Regions from separate parts of the Homo sapiens genome. Here region 2 is linked to region 1. Evidence: promoter capture Hi-C in 16 types of primary human blood cells and fetal thymus (Javierre and others, 2016). All regions are on one chromosome and are shown on one strand. The core of a region is centred on a gene start or on the middle of the fragment in contact, and the rest is flanking DNA. Distances in the headings are between cores, read along the strand shown.

The links. The method cuts DNA at HindIII sites, captures the fragments that hold promoters and counts their contacts. A CHiCAGO score of 5 or more calls a contact.
Region 2: a contact is called between a fragment that was not itself captured here and the fragment with the promoter of SLC25A47 in region 1, in 1 of 17 cell types (monocytes). The highest score is 6.8, in monocytes.

The regions. Positions count from the first base shown.
Region 1 is chr14:100,321,585-100,325,146 of GRCh38, forward strand. It overlaps SLC25A47 (solute carrier family 25 member 47), which reads left to right and starts at 1,755. Exons shown (of 6, transcript NM_207117.4): 1 at 1,755-1,858. The coding sequence starts at 1,831. The HindIII fragment of the contact is 12,472 bases long and covers 293-3,562 here.
Region 2 is chr14:100,655,843-100,659,404 of GRCh38, forward strand. It overlaps LINC00523 (long intergenic non-protein coding RNA 523), which reads left to right and starts at 1,426. Exons shown (of 2, transcript NR_024096.1): 1 at 1,426-1,868. The HindIII fragment of the contact is 938 bases long and covers 1,486-2,423 here.

The DNA of each region.
Region 1 (3,562 bases), core at 505-3,004:
GCAATCAAACCCAAGTCTCAGCTGTATTTGCCCTGCCCAGAACAGGCCAGCCACCTCCTTCCTTCCAGACTCTATGCTTCTGTTAATGCAGCATTAGCATTTAGCTGGCCACTCTCACAGGGACACGCCCGGACTTTGCCCTGCGTGGTCGCAGATATGAGGCAGGTACTCTCTTCATTTCATGGATGCAGAAGCTGAGGCACAGAGTGGTCAAGGGGCTGGCCCACGGTCTCAGCTGTGAGTGGCAGAGCTGGGCTTTAAAGGCAGGCAGCCAGCTTCTAACCAGATGCTAAGCTTCATCCCCTTGAGGGCCAGGACTAGCATTGGGACTGGCCTTGGATGGGCCACTTCCCGCCCTTTGCCCTCTGCCGTGGCAGCTGGCACTGCTCATCCTGTGTCTCCCACTTGCCTATAAATAGCCGGGCTGGCAGGGGGGCTGTCCCTCCATCAGCTCTCAGCCTGCTCAAGGCCAGCCTGCAGGTCCAGCCATTAGAGGACAGGAAAACAGGTAGACAAAGAGCCTCCTGGCCTTGCCACCTGTCCCGAGGGCTGCCCAGATGGGCTGCCTGGGCCTCATGCATCAACACCTGCCCCTCCCCTATCCTGCTGGCATTCCAGTCTGTGGGGCACTCACTTAGATTCTGTTGCTCAGCAGCTGTGTGGCCGAGGTACCTGCACAGCCTCCCTGAGCCTTGGTGTCTCACGTGGAGATCTCACAAGGATGCAGTGCAGGTCACATGGGGCATGCACTGAGTCCCCTTGAGAGCCCTCTGGGGCCTCCCCAGGCGGGCCTGGATATCCCAGAGGGTGGGTTGTATGAGAGCATCTGGGGATCACATCCAGCCCTGCCGCCCTCGTGGCCTTGGACAAGCCCCCTTTCTGGGCCTCAATGGCCCCATCTGTGAAATGGGGAGCACTAACGCTGCGCTGTCTCCCTCCTGGGGCGGTGAGGAGGATCCTAGAGCCTGAGAGTGAGGGGAGCTTGGTGAACTGTAAGGTGGGGTGCACGGGCAAGGAGGTCCCTGTTTTTACAGTGCCCAGCAGACAGAAGTAGCGTCTTAGTGGAGAGGTTTCCCCTTCAGGAGGGCCCCAGCCGCTGGTTCAGAGGCTGAATCGGCAGCCTCTGTCCCTGGTTCATGTGGGCAGGGGGACTTGGTGGAGGCAGCCTTGGCCTTCGCCTCTGGGTCCAGGGAGACACATTCCCATGGAGCAGAGAGCAGGGAACCGGGGCAGCGGGAAGGGTGAGAGCAGATGGTGGGTGCTGTTCCTGGGTTCAGGCCTGTCCTTGCCACCCCCTCCCTCCCTGCCAACTGGAGCTCCTTGAGGACAGGGACTGGCTCTCATTTGCCTGGGTGTAGCATCAGCAAAGTAAGTGTTTTTTGAGTGAGTAAGAGAGGGAGCTTTGCAGGTTTCCCAGGCAGGGGTCCTGAGCAAATCCAGGGGAGTCGGGAAAGCCCAGGGGACACAGTGAAGGCCTGGGCTTGGACCTGGAGGGCGAGAGCTGTCACAGCCCCATCTCTGGACCTTCCCAGGAGGTGTTTGGATGTGATGGGGCAGTGCCCCTGCTCTCTGGTGCCTGTCACCTCCCGTGCTCTCTCCTGTGTTTTCCTGACACCTGGGTCCCGAGGGCACTGGGACAAGGGTCCCGGGGGCAGGGAGGGAGTCCAGCTGTGTGCCGCGTGGCCTCAGCAGGCTCTGCTTCCGGTCCCCTCCCCTGCCGCAGGTATTTAAGGTCTGAGAGGGGCCAGCTGGGAGCTGTTGAGGCCACCCTGGTGGCACCAAAGCCCTCTCAGGCAGGCAGACCCAGGGCCTCCCCGCCACACCTTGTTCATGGATTTTGTCGCTGGAGCCATCGGAGGTAACAGACAGGATGGTGGGCTGTGCAGACACTGCTGCTCCTGGGGGTAGCAGGAGGAACTGAGGTCCAGGAAGGTGCTGGGCAGCAGGGTGGGCTTTGAGGAGCCCCTCACCCCCCAGGATCTGCCAGGAGCAGAGAGCAGGTTCCTGGGAGGCTAAGGCTGGGTGAGGGGTGCTGCAGGGCCTGGGGGGCTGCACTGGCCTGGGAGGCTCAGACAGGAGGCTGAGGGCAGGCTGGGGATGGGGCTGTGGTCTAGGCATGGGGGCCGCTCGGGAGGCAGAGTCAGGGAGGCTGGGAGTCCTTGGTGTGGGGAGGGGTGATTGAGTCACTGGAAGGGAAAGAAGACCCCAGGAGAGGATCGAGAGGGTGGGGAGATGGGTAGGGAAGATGGGCCTGGTCCTGCAGCAGGGACTGGAAGGGGCGGGCAGAGGACGGTAAGGGGCCTGGCGAGGTGGCTCCACCTGCCCTGCTGGGTGTGTGCACCTGGCTAGGCCTCCAGAGCCTGCTTCTCAGGCCAGACTCTGCTGGAGAAACCGTTCTCCCTCCTGGGGAAGGGCTCCTGGTGAAAGACTGATTCAGGGAGATAACCAGGCCCTGGGACACGGGCTCAGCTCCATCCCGTGGGCTGTGGGGGCTGTTCTGAGTGGGCACTCCTGCCCTTGCTGGTCTTGTGAAACATCGGTGGGTGGCGTCAGTACTTCTGGAAACAGCATGGGGGTTGGGAGAGCGGCCCAGCTCTGGCCCTGGGAGAAGGCAGAGTACCTGCCCCATTAACAGGCTTTTTCTTTTTTTTTTCCCTTGAGATGGAGTCTTGTTCTGTCGCCTAGGCTGAAATGCACTGGCGTGATCTTGGCTCACTGCAACCTCTGCCTCCTGGGTTCAAGTGATTCTCCTGCCTCAGCCGCCCAAGTAGCTGGGATTACAGACATGCACCACAATGTCTGGCTAATTTTTGGGTTTTTAGTAGAGGCAGGGTTTTACCATGTTGGTCAGGCTGGTCTCAAACTCCTGACCTCAAGCGATCCGCACGCCTCAGCCTCCCAAAGTGCTGGGATTACAGGCGTGAGCCACTGCGCCCGGCCTCCATTAGCAGCCTTTCTCAGCCCCAGCTAGGTGCCAGCCTGGGGCCAGCCGCTCCCTTCCTCAGGGAAGCTACTGGACTTGCCTGACATCACACAGCTGGAAAGGGCTCCTGAGTCTGGCATCTTTCCTCCGGAGCCATGAGGAGGCCTAGGTAAAGGGCTCTCACTCTGTGCCTGGCCCTGGGTCATGGGGTGTCAGCCCTCGGCCGTGTCCTTGGAGAACTCCAGTTCTGGAGGTGGCGGTGGCATACAACAGCAAGGCCATATGACAAGGGCTCTGCTCAACATGTTCCAGGCACAGAGGCAGCCCAGAGTACAGAGGCCAGAGAGGGCTCCAGAGAGGAGGTAGTGTCGTGGCAGGGCTTTGATGGATGAGTAGGAGCCTGGTGAGGTGTGTGAGGTGTATGGGAGGGTTAAGAAGGGTCGTTCTCTCCAAGCCACTTGGTCTTTTGCCTTACATTTATTCACTTCATTCTTTCATCCCACATATTTACTGAGTCCTGGGCTACAGTGAATAGGGTACAGTCCCCATGTGCCTATTTTCTTCCATTGGCCTTTACCACCTCCCCTCAGGGGAGAGAATGGTCCTCCCAGGGACCACCCTGTTTCCCCTCTGACTTCC
Region 2 (3,562 bases), core at 705-3,204, 330 kb after region 1:
CAGCAGGCTTCCGACTGTCCCCTGGGCTCCAGATGGCAGGGATGGGTTTGGAGAGGTGGCACTGTGAGGTGTGGGGAGGCCTGGCTCCTGCTGGTGGTCCTGAACAGAGGCTGCCATTAGGGTTACAGGTGAGACAGATGGGCACAGATGGGCAGAGCCGATGGCTCTGGAAGTTCAGGGGGTGGCCCAGGGTGGCCCATCTTGCTGGGGCTGCAGTTTCCCTGGGCAGCTGGATGTTGGCTGGCAGCACTGGGCAAAGAGGAGACAGAAGCACAGAAACGGAATCAGGCAGCCCAGCCCAGCCCTCTGTGTCCTGCTGCAGGATAGCCTCCAGTCAGGTAAAACAGGTGGTGGCTTCAGGACTTGCACAGACAGAGCATGTGCTATGTCACTGGGAAGGAGCTCACCGGGAGACAGATGGGGCCTTGGGAAAGCGGGTTCCTGCTGTGGAGCCTCAGTTTCCTCATCTGTGACACGGGGCTTTGGTGAGGGTTGCTGTGAGAATGAAGAGTGAGTGATTTGTGAACAGCCAGCTCACGGCTGAGAGGTGGAGAAAGAAGATGGGGCTGTTCTCTTCCCCAGCTGGAGTCTTGGAGGACAGCAGCTGCCCAGAGGAAATGGAAAGTTAGGTCCGAAGGCTGCTTTGAAATGGTTGGAGGCTGGTTACCCTGAACCCAGCTCTGGTTTGGCTGCTATCAGCTGGCTCACTGGTGAAAACCTCAGAGCTTTTTTTTTTTTTTTTGGTGGGAATTAGAGCCCATGATGGGTGCATGTATTTGGAAACCATAACACTCCATTGGCACATGCGAGAGTGGTTTGCGATGGAACTCAGTCCTCACAACACTGAGGAAACACAGTTGGGAGACTGAGGCACACAGAGAAGGTGGCTCACCCAGGGCCACACGGCAGGGAGATGTGGCAGCTCTGATGGGGACGTCCAGCCTGGTGGCATCTCAGCATACACAGTTAGGGGGTTCCTCTTAGAGAGAAGGAATACAAAATCCTGCGGCGGTGGATATTCAGACATGTGTGGAGTCCCAGCAAGTGGTCCATTCTATATTAGGCAAATATTAGAGACGGCAACGCAGCCAGGCCCTCCCTGCCAGGAAGTGTGGAAACCCTGAGGAATCAGCACCCGCTGTCACTCGAACCCAGGCCTGGACTCCTGCCCCAGTGCTCTTTCCACCAAAGCACCTTCCTCGAATGCACCCGGTTTCCTGGGAGTGAGCTTCTTTGCCACTGGAATGAACAAAAAATCCAGATGAGGATTTCAGGGTGGCTCTGCCCTGCCTGCCTCACACCGCCCTTTCCAGAACAGGCGGGGGAGCGCGAGGCAGGGCGGTTCTCGCTTGGAGACGGGTGGGTGGACTGGAGGGCAGAGGCAGGCTCTGGGTTCTGCACCCATTTACATATCCCCTGCGCACTGTCCGGAGCACTCCTTCCCTTCCCTGGTTCCTCAAGGCACGGCTCCCCCAGGCAGATGAAAGCTTAATAGAGTTTTGCGACATGAAAGTCAGTCGGAGGAAAGAGCCTTGAACAGTTGTGCGTGAGAGAGAGGCAAGCGCCCGAAATTATTTTACGACAAAGGCAGCTCTCTCTGCCACAGAGGCACAGAGGAGAAAGGAGCCCAGGAAACGGGTCATTTCTTTCGTGGAAAAATGGAAATGCTCTGAAGCATTTTGGGAGACGTGCTGTGAAGCAGGTGACACCAGAAGACAAGGACACTGGGGGCTCCCTGCCGGGAGGCGCAAAAAGCAACTCCCGTTCGAGGGTCAGAGGAGCCTGGATGCTAATGTCTCTCCAAAGTGACTTGGAGCCAACTGCCGGAAAGGCCATGCCCTTAGGAGCACAGGCAGGTCCCAGCTCAGGTGAGCCTGAACCTTCTGCCCCATCAGGAGGTTCCAGTGGGAGGAGCTCAGGTGGGGAGGAGTCGGAAGTCAGGATTTCATGCCTCCCTCATTGGCTCTGGGGTTCCCTTTAAGGTGGACACTCGGTGTGGGCAGTGGGAGGCAAGAGTGAAGCAGAGGAGAGCAAGCGTGGTGGTTTAGCAAAGTAAAGCAAAGTAAACCTGGAGGGAGCAAATGACTTTGTCCTGGGTGTGAAAGGGTAAGGCCCCATTGTAGGTCATTTATTCATTCAACAAACACGGGTTGAACTGTGTCTTGGGCTGGCCTCAGAGAAGCTCAAGAAAAGAAAGATGCTGTCATTGCCCCGAGGAGCCACTGTCTGGCATGCAGGCCAACTGTGACAAGCTGTGGTCCAGGTGAGGTGGGGTCTGGACAAGCCAGGAGGGGTTCACTGTGGATGAGCCAGGGAATGGGGAGAGGCCCCAGAGACGGGCTATGAAGACCAGTCTTGGGGCAAGAACAGTAGGTGGGGAGGGGAGGGAGAACCTTCCAGCAGGAGGATGCACCTGTGGCTAAAGCTTGGAGGTGCAGGGAACGCCCCCAAGCACCTGGGGCCACAGTGCAGGGTGTGGCCAGGACAGGAGTCCTGGAGCTGGACAGCCTGAGGGGCCACATGGTGCTGGGCTCTGTTCCCGGTGGGGAGGGGTGGGACTGTCCCTGTGGACAGCAGGGGGCTACTAGGGGCCCTGGGGAGTGGCAGTGAGGGCAGATACAGGATGTGGCCAGGTGGCGCTGGCTCAGGCAAGTGGGATGGGGAGGGGAGCAGAGGCTGCAGCCAGGAGGGCAAAGGGGAGGTGGCTAGGCCATGGAGGGGAGGAGGAGCATGGGGAGAGCAGCATTGGGGGAGCTCCAGAAGGCCCCTGGTGTCAGAACAGAGGGCAGACCTGCTCCTCCTCCTCCCTCCCTCTCTGCAGCTGCAGCCGGAAGGGCCTTGTCCCTGGGAGGGCTGCCTTGACTCCTCCCCTCCAGCCCAGGTGACTTCCGTGCCTCTCTGTGTCCTCCAGGGTGCTGGGCCCCTGGCCAGCCTGTGGCTCCTCCATGCCCCTGAGTGTGTGGGCAGCTCTGCGGGATGAGAGGATGTCAGGGCAGGGCCCACCCTGAGCTAAGTCCAGTTGTCATGGATTTTCCTTTGTTTATTCCATCTTGGGGTCAGACCTAGCCCAGTGCTGGCCAACCCAGCAGTTGTGCTAGCCCAGGACATATACGGGAGGTCTCATGTGTGGCCCGAGCCCACCCTGTCTCGGTCCAGGACTAGGAGGCTGAGGGTCTGGCTGGGGGCAGCATCCCTGGACAGTGGGTGTGGCCAGGGGGGCTCCTTGCCGGGGGATATGCCACAGAGCCCCGCTTCACCACTCAGGGCTGTCCCCGTCCAGTTGCAGGGGACCTGCAAAGTTTGCTCCCCCATGGGGACCTGCAAAGTTTGATGGGTCTGTGTGGGAGTCACTTGGCAAAAAGGGGACTGGCTCCTGCGAGAATTCCCAAGAGGATTCGAAATCCCTGGAGCTTGCCAGACTTCTGCTAGCTGGGGCCAGGGCACTGCCGTGACTCCTCAGTTCTCCCGCTAGGGAGATGGGGCTAAAAGTCTTGCTCTGCCCACCGCAGGGTCTTCTTGGGAGAATAAAACGAGGCCAAGCGTCTCCAGAAAGCTTGGGGCT